Regions from separate parts of the Homo sapiens genome. Here region 1 is linked to region 2. The links are contacts of gene promoters, found by promoter capture Hi-C in blood cells and fetal thymus (Javierre and others, 2016). All regions are on one chromosome and are shown on one strand. Each heading gives the region's core, a stretch centred on a gene start or on the middle of the fragment in contact. The rest is flanking DNA. Distances are from core to core; before and after follow the strand shown. Region 1 overlaps PVR (PVR cell adhesion molecule). Region 2 holds the start of APOC4 (apolipoprotein C4).

Region 1 (6,957 bases), core at 4,292-6,791, 290 kb after region 2:
GTCCTCAAACTCTCCAGTTAGGTGTCCAGGGTGTTTGCTTATGCAGGGACTGATGGATAGAAATGGGTTTGCCCATGCTGTTCCCTCTGCTGGAATGCTTTCCCCCTAGGCACCCGCAGAGCTCACCCTCATCTCCTTCAGGCCTCTGCTGGGATGTCACCTTAGTAACACCTCACTTGGCCACCCTATTTCAACTGTGATGATCACCCTTCCCATCCCCTTCTCTTTAATTTATTTAATTATTATTTTTTTGAGACAGCGTCTCACTCTGTCACCCAGGCTGGAGTGCAGTGGCACCATCTTGACTCACTGCAACCTCCACCTCCTGGGTGCATGGAATCTTCCCACCTCAGCCTCCTGAGTAGCTGGGACTACAGGTGCATGCCACCACACCCGGCCAATTTTTGTATCTTTTTTGGTAGAGATGGGGTTTCGCCATGTTGGCCAGGCTGGTCTTGAACTCCTAGCCTCAAGTGATCCTCCCATCTCTGCCTCCCAAAGTGCTGGGATTACAGGTATGAGTCATGGCGCCCAGTCCCATTCCCTTCTCTGCTTTGTCTTCTCCATGGTATTTATCACCATTGCACACACACTACACACTTTATCTTGCTTCTTGTTTCTTTCACCACTAGAATGGAAGCTCTATATGGGGAGGAAATTTGGTCTGTTTTATCGACCAACGTATGTTGGTTAATTGCACCCGGCACACAGTAAGTAGTCAAGGAACACTGGTTTAATGAACAGAGGTGGAGGAGATGGAAGCATCAGGCTTTGGGTGCTCCGCAGAGCTGGGATGCAAACGCAGCTATCTGGCTCAAGAGCCTGAATTGCGGTGCTTTGAGGCAGGACAGTAAAGGCACCATCACACCAGTTGAAAACCTTTGACCGGCAATTCCTTCCACGGACAACTGCTGACAAGTGACCAGTGGGGATGGACACCACCATGGCATTTGCAGAGTTGAAAATGGAAAATGACATCTGTGTCCTCTACTAGGGACTGGTTAAATAACTGATGACATCCACATATGTTGGAATCCCTTCCCTGCCCTTTGGGAGGCCCAGGTGAGATGACTGCTTGAGTACAGGAGTTCAAGACCAGCCTGGGCAACATAGTGAGATCCTGTCTCTATTCTTTGAATTTTTTTTTTAAAGTGGTGGAATCCCAGCAACACTAAAAAAGGGGCCAGGTTAGCCAGGCGTGGTGGTGTGTGCCTGTAGTCCCAGCTATCTGGGAGGCTGAAGCTGGAGGATCGCTTGAGCCCAGGAATTCAAGGCTGCAGTGAGCTGTGATTGTGCCACGGCACTACAGCCTGAGCAACAGAGTGAGGCCCTGCCTCAAAAAAAAAAAAAAAAAAAAAAAAGCAGGAGAGCTGGGGGTGCTCTGAAATGCATAATATGATTGATGGATGAATAGAGGGACTGAAGGAATCACAGAAACGTGATAAAGCAAGCACAGTAAAATGTTAGCAGGGGAATCCACGTGGTGGAATCTTAAGTGTTCACTGGAAAATTCCTATGATTTTTCTGTATGTTTGACAGTCTTCCTAATACAACGTGGGGGAAAATGGAGTTGTGGATCTATGTGCTTTGACATGGAAAGGTATTCACAAGACAGACGAAAAGGTTCAAAATTATATGTACAGCATAATTCCAGTCTTTGTTTAGAAACAGAGAGAAAAAAGACAGGATGTATAATAAGGGGTCACTGGGTATTTCTGGAGGTGGCTGGGTACACTTGAACTATAGGCACTACTTTCTTCTTTTTGCTCATAACTAAATTGTTTGATATTTCTACAGTGGACACAAGTTATTTTTGTAATAAGGAAAAAGACCTAAGGCTGGGCGAGGTGGCTCACGCCTGTAATCCCAGCACTTTAGGAGGCTGAGGTGGGTTGATTGCTTGAGCCCAGGAGTTGCAGACCAGCCTGGGCAATGTGGCAAAACCCTGTCTCTGCAAAAAAAATACAACAAAATTAGCTGAGTGTGGTGGCGTGTGCCTGTAGTCCCAGCTACTCAGGAGGCTGAGGTGGGAGGATCACCTGAGCCCAGGGAGGTCCAGGCTGCAGTGAGCTATGATCACGCCACTGCACTCCAGCCTCGGCAACAGAGCCCCTTCTTTAAAAAAAAAGGGCGGTTCAGTAAAATTATGTAATTTATGTAAAATTATGTATTATAAAATTATGTATTATCTCTTTGCCTTTTTCTTACCTTGCTCTTGATCTCAGCCTCAGTGTGAATCTGGGGAAATCTTATTGCTGTGAGCCTCAACTTTCTCATCTAGACAATGGGGATATATAGTACTTGCTCCATCCAGAGATAACCAAGTAGGTTACACAAGGTGACGGTGAGGTGGTTACAGTCTAGAGTGGGGGTGTCCAATCTTTTGGCTTCCCCGGGCCACATTGGAAGAAGAAGAACTGTCCTGGGCCATACATAAAATACACTAACACTAACAATAGCTAATGAGCTAAAAAAATTCGCAAAAAAAAAGTCTCATAATGTTTTAAGAAAGTTTACAAATGATGTGGCCTGCAGGTTAGACAAGCTTGGCCAAGAGGCGGAGGACCAGCTTTGGAGCCGAGCGCTGATTCAAGGGCCGCTTCTGCCCTCTCGTGGCTGGTCTTTAACCTGGGCAGGGCAACAGCTGCTGACTGTGCACAGCATGGGGTCACATGGGATTCGGGGGAAGTACCGGGCACAGAGCAGGCACACCCCAAAAAGCAGGTGCATCCACCAGCCAGGATTCAACCACCTGCTAAACGCCTCAACCGCAAAACAGAGATGTCAAAACAGAGATGCCCCCCACTGGGGGCCCGAAGTCAACCTCCTCTTTTTCTCTTTTCTGAATCTCCCTCCTCTCTTAGACCAGGAGTCCAGGCCCCAGTCTGTCCTGCCTCAGACCCAGGGGTCCAGGCTCCCAGCTTCTCCTCCCTCAGACCCAGGGGTCCAGACCCCCCAGCCCCTCCTCCCTCAGACCCAGGGGTCCAGGCCCAGCCCCTCCTCTCTCAGTCCCAGGGGTCCAGACCCCCAGCCCCTCTTCCCTCAGACCCAGGAGTCCGGGCTCCCAGCCTCTCGTCCCTCAGACCCAGGGGTCCGGGCCCCCAGCCCCTTCTCCCTCAGTCCCAGGAGTCCAGGCCCCCAGCCCCTCCTCCCTCAGTGCTAGAAATCCAGACCCCCAGCCCCTCCTCCCTGAGACCCAGGACTCACGTGCTCCAATTATAGCCTGTGGGCTCTGGGTTGCTGCGAGCATCGCAGGTCAGGGTGGCCTCATTCTGGCCAAGGTACCAGTTGTTATCATAGCCAGAGATGGATACCTCTGGGGGGTCTGCAGGAAATGGATACAGAGGTTCAGAGACTGGGAGGCTTTGGGGGGCCTGGGGCTACGCGGGATTCACGACACTGCAGGAAAAGGCCCGGGGATATTTGGAAAACAGCGGGAGCTGGAGAGGCCTAGGAGGAGTCTAGGTAGATGGGGTGCCACAGAGAGCAGAAGCCTAGGAGTCCTTGGTCAGTGGGGACATGGAGAAGGCTTCTGAGGAGCTGCTTTTCTCCACTAGCTTTCCTGGGTAGCCTGGACCAGGCATGTCTTGGGTGTCCTGCAGGAAAATGCCTCCTCCTTTTCTCACTCATAGGCAATGACCACTCACAACACACAGCAGTGTATTCAAGGTTCTGACAAGTCCTGCAGGAAAGAGTCCCAGATAACCCTGCTCTAGGCTGCTGCTCAGCCATCCCATACGTGATTGACAGCGAAGACCTTTCAATGTCCTTGGGGGCAGGCCAATGGGACAGGGTTTTATTCGGGGGCGAGGGGTAGGAGTCAGTGTAGATCTCCTCCTCGCTCAGACCCAGTGACAGTGTTGAGGGACTCCAGTATAGACAGTACCTGAGGGAATCTGTGTACCAATTGCCTGGCGGGGAGTAAGCAGTATAGACAATGGTGGGAGGAACAGTATGAATGATGTCTAGAAGAGCTTGTGTGGATATTACTGATGGGTTCAGTGTAGACAGGGTGTTGGAATATTACAGCAGATGCTATATTGTCGGGCCAGTGTTGAAAATGTGGTGGTGGGGGTGAGATCACCCCCACATATACAGTGTGTCCCCGGGAGCTGACGAAATTAAGACAGGCTCTGTGTATGTGTGTAGACAGTATTTGGATGAGCCAGTGTAGATGATGTGGGAGCTTAGTCTAGATCTGTGCTGTCCAATATGGCACCTACTGGCCACATGTGACTACTGAGCACTCGAAATATAGCCAGGCCGAAATACACACCAGATTTCAAAGGCTTTACTAGGACAAAATAAATGGGAAAGATCTCAAGAATAATTTTAAAAAAACAATTACAAGTTGAAATAATATTTTAGGTATATTGGGTTAAGTAAAGGCAATTATTAAAAATTAATTTTGGCCAGGCACAGTGGCTCATGCCTGTAATCCCAGTACCTTGGGAGGTTGAGGCAGGAGGATCACTTGAGCCCAGGAGTTTGAGACCAGCCTGGGCAACATAGGGAGATCCTGTCTCCAGAAAAAATAAAAATAGGCCGGGTGCGGTGGCTCACGTCTGTAATCCCAGCAATTTGGGAGGCCAAGGTGGGTGGATCACGAGGTCAGGAGTTTGAGACCAGCCTGGCCAACATGGTGAAATCCCGTCTCTACCACAAATACAAAAATTAGCTGGGCACTGTGGCCAGGGCTTGTAATCCCAGCTACTCGGGAGGCTGAGGCAGGAGAATCACTTGAACCCGAGAGGCGGAGGCTGCAGTGAGTTGAGATCGTGCCACTGCACTCTAGCCTGGGTGACAGAGCAAGACTTCATCACAAAACAAAAAAACAAAAACAAAAACAAAAACAAAAATTAGCTAGGCATGGTGTCACACGCCTGTAGTCCCAGCTACTCAGGAGACTGAGGCTGAGGTGGGAGGATCACTTAAGCCCAGGAGGTTGAGGCTGCAGGGAGCTGTGCCACTGCACTCCAGTCTGGGTGACAGAGTAAGACCCCGTCTCAAATAAATAAATAGATAAATAAATAAACAAATAAATTTCATCTCTTTCTTTTCTTGTTTTTGAGATGGAGTTTTGCTCTGCTGCCCAGGCTGGAGTGCAATGGCGTAATCTCGCTCATTGCAATCTCCGCCTCCCAGGTTCAAGTGATTCTCCTGCCTCAGTCTCCCGAGTAGCTGGGATTACAGGCACCCGCCACCGTGCCTGGCTAATTTTTGTATTTTTTAGTGAAGACAGAGTTTCACCACATTGATCAGGCTGGTCTTGAATGCCTGACCTCAGGTGATCCACCTGCCTCGGCCTCCCAAAGTGCTGGGATTACAGGCGTGAGCCACCGTGCCTGGCCTCTTTCTTTTAATTTTTTAATGGGGTGGCCGCTGGAGAATTTAAAATCCTATATGCAGCTTGCATGCTATTTCTGTTAGACAGCACTGGTTAGAGAGTCCTGGGGCTGTCAGTGGAGATAAATGTGTGGGTGTCAATGTCGATGATGCCATGAGGGAGCTGGTGGAGGTAACGCTGTGCAGGAGAATCAGGACAGATGCTGTCAGGGGGCTGTGCAGACAGAACACAAGGAGGCCAGTGTGGTGATGTGGGGTGAGACTGGATAGCCTGTAGATGAGCCAGTGTAGACAATATTGGGCAGAGGAACATGGAGACTACACTGGGGGACTCTGCAGACACTGCTTAGGGGAGCCAGCACAAACAATGTGAGAAGATCAATGCAACTAGCACCCGGCGGAGACAGTTGATCGTGGCTCAGGGGAACTGGTCGATACAATGTGGGAGGTGAATGCAGACAGTTCTCCAGGGAGTCAGTGTAGACAGTGTCAGGGGGCACTTTAGAGAGTGCCTAGGAGAACCAGTGTAGAAAAAGTGGGGTGTTTACATAGACAGTGGTCATAGGAGCCAGTGTAGACACTATGGGAGACAGTGAAAACACCCCACAGCTGGTGGCCAAAATAGGTGGTGTAGACAATGGGGTTAGTGCTGTCTGTGGCCCAGGAGAGCCAGTGTAGACAATGGTAAGGCAGTGTAGAAAATGGACAAGGGGCCAGGTGCAGTGGCTCACGCCTGTAATCTCAGCACTTCGGGAGACTGAGGCGGGAGGATCACTTAAGCCTAGGAGTTTGAGACCAGCCTGGGCAACACAGCAAAACTCTCTCTAGAAAAAAACTGTAAAATTAGCCGGGCATGGTGGCTGCACCTGTAGTCCCAGTTACTTGGGAGGCTGAGGGAGAAGGATTGCTTGAGCCTGGAAGGGTGAGGCTGTAGGAACCATGATCATGCCCCTACACTCCAGCCTGGGTGACAGAGCGAGACCCTGTCCAAAGGAAAAACAAAACAAAACAAAAAGCCGGGCACAGTGGCTCATGCCTATAATTCCAGCATACTTTGGGAGGCTGAGGCAGGCCGATCACCTGAGGTCAGGAGTTCGAAACCAGCCTGGCCAACATGATGAAACCCTGTCTCTACTAAAAATACAAAAATTAGCCAGGTGTGGTGGTGTGCACCTTTAATCCCAGCTATTTGGGAGGCTGAGGTAGGAGAACCACCTGAATTTGGGAGGCAGAGGTTACAGTGAGCCGAGAACATGCCACTGTACTGCAGCCTGGGTAACAGAGTGAGACTCTATTTCAAAAAAAAAAAAAAAAAAAGGAAAGAAAGAAAAGGACAAGGGAGTGGGTGTAGACAATAAGGGAGGCAGTGTTGATCGTGGCCAGAAGAACCAGTGTAGCAATGTGGGGAGGGTCATTGTGGATACTTGCCTGGGGAAATGGGTGTAGGCAGTTTAGGGGCAGTGTAGACTGTGCTCAAGGGAGTCAACAGAGTGTCAGGTATCCGTGCAGACAGCCGCTAGAGGAGCCAGGGCAGACAGTCTGGGTACCAGCATTGACTATGGCCCAAGTAAACTGGTGTAGACAATAGGGACAGTGTTGTTTACGGCCCAG
Region 2 (6,743 bases), core at 1,410-3,909:
CTCACCAGAACCATTGCCACCCGTCTCTGGTCCTGTTCACCACTGTCTCCAGCAGCTCCTTCATCCTGCCCCTCACCAGGCTCCAGCGACTCATCTTTAGCTTTGGTGGGGGGCTCAGGGTTCCTTCCTGGGCCTCTGGCTGGCATGCTAGGTGGAACCAGAGGGCAACTTGGGTAGGCTGGGACCCTAGAATCCCCTTCTCCCTTTCCCTCCATGCTCATCCTGTGTCGCTCCCGGTGGCCCAGGGGCAGCCCCCTGCCAGTCCTCTTGCCTCCTGCCTTTACCCTTATGTGTCCCCTGACCGCTAACCCCTCTTTAACCATCAGCCATCTCTTTTTTTTTTTCTTTTTTCTTTTTTTTTATGAGACAGAGTCAGTCTCTTGCTCTGTTGCCCAGGGTGGAGTGCAGTGTCATGATCTCGTCTCATTGCAACCTCCACCTCCTGGATTCAGGCAATTTTCCTGCCTCAGCCTCCCGAGTAGCAGGGATTACAGGCATCTGCCATCATGCCCGGCTAATTTTTGTATTTTTAGAAGAGATGGGGTTTTGCCATGTTGGGGCCTCGAACTCCTGACCTCAAGTGATCCACCCACCTCGGGCTCCCAAAATGCTGGGATTACAGATGTGAGCCACCCCGTCCGGCTGGGCCATCTCTTCACCTTGTGTCAGTAGTCCCTCCTGTCACCCTGTCTGCCTGTGGTTCCCCTCTAATGGCCTCTCTAATTGCCATCCTCTGATGCCTCCCTTCACCACCTGATTTTGCTGCCCAGGAACTACCCCCTTCTCCCTTCGTTCTCCTGTGACCCCCACCCTGTCTGAGCTACCTCTGTGGACAGTGGAGGGAGAGCAGGAGGTGACTTTCTGCCCCCAGGGGCAGACATTGGCTTAGCCTTGCTGTCAGTTCCTCTTTCCGGGCCAGACCTTCTACCCACGCATCTGGACAAAGCCTCGCCTACAGAGACCAGCCGTCACGCGGGGGCCACATGTAGCTAGCTGTGTGCCTTGGCCGGTGACTTATCCTGTCTCCCCAGGACTGTTTCTCCTTTTGTAGAACGGGGTAATAATATCTACCTCAGGGTTATCGTGAGAATTAAGAGTTACTACATACGATGCACATGGAATGGTGCCTTGCACATTGTCTACATACGTGTTAAATTTTTTTTTTTTTTCAGACGGAGTCTCGCTCTGTCACCCAGGTTGGAATGCAGTGGCGCGATCTCGGCTCACTGCAACCTCTGCCTCCCGGGTTCAAGTGATTCTCCGGCCTCAGCCTCCCGAGTAGCTGGGACTACAGGCGCATGCCACCATGCATGGCTAATTTTTTGTATTTTTAGTAGAGATGGGTTTTTACCCATCTGTTAGCCAGGATGATCTCAAATCTCCTGACCTTGCGATCCACCCGCCTCGGCCTCCGAAAGTGCTGGGATTACAGGCATGAGCCACCGTGCCTGGCCCTGTATTAAAAATTTAAATTTCTACTGGATAATGCTGATCTAGAATATGATCCCATTTTAACATAAAGTACATGGCCGGGCGTGGTGGCTCATGCCTGTAATCCCAGCACTTTGGGAGGCCAAGGCGGGCGGATCACCTGAGGTCAGGATTTCAAGACCAGCCTGGGCAACATGGCAAAACCCTGTCTCTACCAAAAATATAAAAAAATTAGCCAGGCATTGGCCAGGCGCAGTGGCTCACGCCTATAATCCTAGCACTTTGGAAGGCCGAGGCAGGCGGATCACGAGGTCAGGATATGGAGACCATCCTGGCTAACACGGCGAAACCCCGTCTCTAGTAAAAATACAAAAAATTAGCCAGGCGTGGTGGTGGGCTCCTGTAGTCCCAGCTACTCGGGAGGCTGAGGCAGGAGAATGGCGTGAACCCGGGAGGCGGACGTTGCAGTGAGCCAAGATCACGCCACTGCACTCCAGCCTGGGTAACAGAGCGAGACTCCGTCTCAAAAAAAAAAAATTAGCCAGGCATGGTGGCGTGTGTCTGTAGTCCCAAATACTCTGAAGACTGAGGCAGGAGAATCCCTTGAAACGGGTAGGCGGATGATGCAGTGAGCCAAGATCGCACCACTGCTACCACTGCACTCCAGCCTGGGTGACAGAGTGAGACTCCGTCTCAAAAAAAAAAAAAAAAATGCATATGCAAAACACAGACGTACACACCAGCACACACTCACCCCCTCACACATGTCCACACACTCAAATATTTTGCACACACATACCCCACAGAGAGACAGGTGCACACAAATACACATATGCACACAGACATGCACTTTTTTACCACGACTGCATACTCCCACTTCCACGCACGCACGTGCACACACACAGATGATCCCAGTTTGTACCAATGTGACATTCACACTTCACTCTCAGCCACCGACACACACACTCCCCGACACGCACATGCATACGCACGCCATGAAACGCACACACTCCGTACTCATGTCTCACGTGGCTACAGAGCCACAGGACACACAGCCACACTCACACCCACCAGGTGTGGGCCCCACATCCCTCCACCCACTTCTTCTCACCCCCAATGCAGGCCAGGACCAGCACGCAGAGGCACAGGGCAGGCAGGGCCTGGAGCCTGTTTCTGAGGAGGGACATTTCTGGGGGTTCCGTGCCTCTGTCCCTCTGTGCTCAACTCTGCGGGCCGGGGGAGGGGAGGCTGCACAGAGCAGGGCCCTCCCCCGGCCACCTCCCCGCTTGGCAGAGACTTCAGAGAGCAGGGCCCAGGTGACAGTGGCAATCAGAGGTCATGCCTCTGTGGGCCTCCCTCCTTCTCACCCTCCCACACAGTGCCCTGAGAGAAGACAGAGGCTCTTGAGCCTCCTGCACTGAGGCAGGTTCAAATCCTGTCTCCACCTCCCATGACAGCCTCATTTGCTGGCCTCAGTTTCCTCCTCCATAAAGTGGGAGGCACAGTACATATTTCAGTATATTACTTGAACAAATACAAAGAAAGGCGCAGTGGCTCACGCCTGTAATCCCAGCACTTTGGGAGGCCGAGGTGGGCAGATCATATGAGGCCAGGAGTTTGAGACCAACCTGGCCAACATGGTGAAAAACCCTGTCCCTACTAAAAATACAAAAATTAGCCAGAAGTAGTGATGCGTGCCTGTAATCCCAGCTACTTGGGAGGCTGAGGCAGGAGAATGGCTTGAACCCGGGAAGTGAAGGCTGCAGTGAGCCGCGATCACACCACTGCACTCCAGCCTGGGTGACAGAGCAAGACTCTGTCTTGAAACAAAACAAAACAAAAAATGAAGAAAGCTCTTACCGTGGAGACTGGCAATATAGGTGCTCAAAGATCATTGCTGTTGGCCAGGCGCGGTGGCTCATGCCTGTAACCCCAACACTTTGGGAGGCCGAGGCAGGCGGATCACGAGGTCAGGAGATTGAGACCATCTTGGCTAACACGGTGAAACCCCATCTCTACTAAAAATATGAAAAATTAGCCAGGCGTGGTGGCAGGCGCCTGTAGTCCTAGCTACTCGGGAGGCTGAGGCAGGAGAATGGCGTGAACCTGGGAGGTGGAGCTTGCATTGAGCCGAGATCGCGCCACTGCAGTCCAGCCTGGGCGAAAGAGCAAGACTCCGTCTCAGAAAAAAAAAAAAGATCATTGCTGTTATTATTATCTTGTGTCTAATTTCTCCTAGTCACTGGGCTGCAGGGCCAGGCTTGTGGTAGGGCCTCAATAGGGCCCAAGGGTTGATGAGAGGAAATAGCAACACAGTCTCATGTCTCCAGCCTCTGTTTCTTCCTAGGTGGGCTCGAGCCCGATCACTTCCAAGCATTCCTTGAGTTCTCAATTCCAACTCTTTCTCCTCTGGGTGACTCTGGCTTCAGATGGACCTGGGCTTCGAATCCCTCACTTCTTCACCGTGTGACCTGGGCAAATACGTTTTCTTTTCTGGGGCTCAGTTTGTTCAACTGTAACACGGGGTTGATAGGGAGCACCTGCCTCCCAGTGTCCTCATGCAGGACGGCTGAGGCCTATGCAGGAGAGCTGCAGGTGCACATAGTAGGAGGTCATCAACATCAGGCCCAGGGCCAGGGCGGTGGCTCCCACCTGTAATCCCAGCACTTTGGGAGGCCGAGGCAGGCGGCTCACTTGAGGTCAGGAGTTCAAGACCAGCCTGGCCAACGTAGTGAAACCCCGTCTCTACTAAAAATACAAAAATTAGCCGGGTGTGGTGGAGCGAGACCTTGTCTCAAAAACAATAACAACAACAAAAACCAACAAAAAACCCACATCAGGCTCGGTCCCAGTGCCAGAAATAGAGCATTTTTCTCCTGAAGGACCCAGCTGCACCCCAGGGCACATGGCTCAGGGGACTATGGACTGGATTCTTTTTTTTTTTTTTGAGACAGAGTCTGGCTCTGTCGCCCAGGCTGGAGTGCTGTGGCGCGATCTCGGCTCACTGCAAGCTCCGCCTCCCAGGTTCACGCCATTCTCCTGCCTCAGCCTCCCGAGTAGCTGGGACTACAGGCACCCGCCACCACGCCCAGCTAATTTTTTGTATTTTTAGTAGAGACGGGGTTTCACCGTGTTAGCCAGGATGGTCTCGATCTCCTGACCTCGTGATCCGCCCGCCTCGGCCTCCCAAAGTGCTGGGATTACAGGCTTGAGCCACTGCGCCTGGCCTGGACTGGATTCTTTTGTCTACGCTTGCCAGACGAAATAGAGGAGGCCCAATTACATTTGAATTTCAAATCAACAGTGCATGACGTTTTAGTATAAATATGTCCCATGAAATATTTCAGAATTATACCAAAAAGTTTTTTTTGCTATTAATCTGAAATTCAAATGTAACTGAGCATCCTGTATTTTTACATGGCAAATCTGCAAACGCAACCTTGGCCACAACCTGAACAACTGTGCAGGACTGTCTTGACCCAGATGTCTGCCTTGGCAGAATCCTGTCCATCCCAGAGGCCCCAGCGTGAGCACAGTAGGTGCGCAACAGATGTCCCCTGGAATTCCTCTGTAGCAATCATCAGCAGATTGAAAACACCCAGAGTTTCTGTTTGGGATGACGAAGACATCCTGCAAATAGTGGGGATGGTTGCACAACAGTGTGAATGTACTTAATGCCACTGAACTGTACACCTAAAAATGGCTGCAATGGTTAAGTTTTTTTTTTTTTTTTTTTTTTTTTGAGGCAGAGTCTCACTCCGTCACCCAGGATAGAGTGCAATGGTGTGATCTTGGCTCACTGCAACCTCTGCCTCCCGGGTTCCAGCGATTCTCCTGCTTCAGCCTCCCGCGTAGCTGGGATTACAGGTGTGCGGCAACCACACCCGGCTAATTTTTTGTATGTATGTATGTATTTGAGACATAGTTTCGCTCTTGTTGCCCAGGCTGGAGTGCAATGGTGCGATCTTGACTCACTGCAACCTCCGCCTCCCGGGTTCAAGCGATTCTCCGGCCTCAGCCTCCTTAGTAGCTGGAATTATAAGCGCCTGCCACCATGCCCAGCTAATTTTTTGTATTTTTAGTAGAGACGGGGTTTCACAATGTTGGCCAGGTTGGTCTTGAACTCCTGACCTCAGGTGATCCACCTGCCTTGGCCTCTCAAAGTGCTGGGATTACAGGCGTGAGCCACCATGGCTGGCTCATTTTTTTGTATTTTTAAAGAGACAGGTTTTCACCATGTTGGCCAGGGTGGTCTCAAACTCCTGACCTCTCAGGTGATCCATCCACCTCAGCCTCCCAAAGTGCTGGGATTGCAGGCATGAGCCACTGCGCCTGGCTGCCCAGCTAATATTTTTATTTTTTGTAGAAACACAGTTTTGCCAAGTTGCCCAGACTGGTCTTGAACTCCTGGGTTCAAGTAATCCTCCCACCTCAACCTCCCAGAGTGTTGAGATTACAGGCGTGAGCCACCACACCCGGCCATGTTGTTTATATTTTACCACAATTATAAAAAAACAAAAACAGCCAGGTACTGTGGCAGGGGCTTGTAGCCCCAGCTACTCAGAAAGCTGTGGTAGAAGGATTCCTTGAGCCCAGGAGTTTGAGAGTCCAGCCTGGGCAACATAGTAAGACCCCGTCTCTTAAAAAAAAAAAAAAAAAGCTGGGCACGGTGGCTCACGCCTGTAATCCCATCACTTTGGGAGGCCAAGGCGGGCGGATCACGAGGTCAGGAGTTCGAGACCAGCCTGACCAACATGGTGAAACCCCCGTCTCTACTAAAAATACCAAAAAAAAAAAAAAAGTTAGCTGGGCATCGTGGTGGGCACCTGTAATCTCAGCTACTCAGGAGGCTGAGGCAGGAGAATTGCTTGAACCTGGAAGGTGGAGGTTGCAGTGAGCCGAGATCGCGCCACTGCACTCCAGCCTGGGCGACAGTGCGAGACTCAGTCTCAAAAAAAAAAAAAAAAACAGGCCGGGCGCGGTGGCTCACGCCTGTAATCCCAGCACTTTGGGAGGCCGAGGCGGGCGGATCACGAGGTCAGGAGATCGAGACCATCCCGGCTAAAACGGTGAAACCCCGTCTCTACTAAAAATACAAAAAAATTAGCCGGTCATAGTGGCGGGCGCCTGTAGTCCCAGCTACTTGGGAGGCTGAGGCAGGAGAATGGCGTGAACCCGGGAGGCGGAGCTTGCAGTGAGCCGAGATCCCGCCACTGCACTCCAGCCTGGGCGACAAAGCGAGACTCCGTCTCAAAAAAAAAAAAAAAAAACAACAAAAAACAAGGGCCAGCATGGTGGCTCGTGCCTGTAAT

What was found. Contacts are between HindIII fragments. The CHiCAGO score rates a contact against its expected background, and 5 or more counts as called.
Region 1: a fragment that was not itself captured here is called in contact with the fragment with the promoter of APOC4 in region 2 in 2 of 17 cell types (total B cells and naive B cells); the score reaches 5.7 in total B cells.

The regions. Positions count from the first base shown.
Region 1 is chr19:44,650,268-44,657,224 of GRCh38, reverse strand. It overlaps PVR (PVR cell adhesion molecule), which reads right to left. Exons shown (of 8, transcript NM_006505.5): 4 at 3,208-3,325. MIR4531 (microRNA 4531) reads left to right here and starts at 3,493; the gene lies at 3,493-3,539. RefSeq lists a silencer at 487-687 and an enhancer at 2,463-2,522. The HindIII fragment of the contact is 5,987 bases long and covers 2,548-6,957 here.
Region 2 is chr19:44,938,153-44,944,895 of GRCh38, reverse strand. APOC4 (apolipoprotein C4) reads right to left here and starts at 2,659. Exons shown (of 3, transcript NM_001646.3): 1 at 2,543-2,659; 2 at 6-147. The coding sequence starts at 2,618. It overlaps APOC4-APOC2 (APOC4-APOC2 readthrough (NMD candidate)), which reads right to left and starts at 2,658. Exons shown (of 6, transcript NR_037932.1): 1 at 2,543-2,658; 2 at 6-147. The HindIII fragment of the contact is 22,942 bases long and covers 1-6,743 here.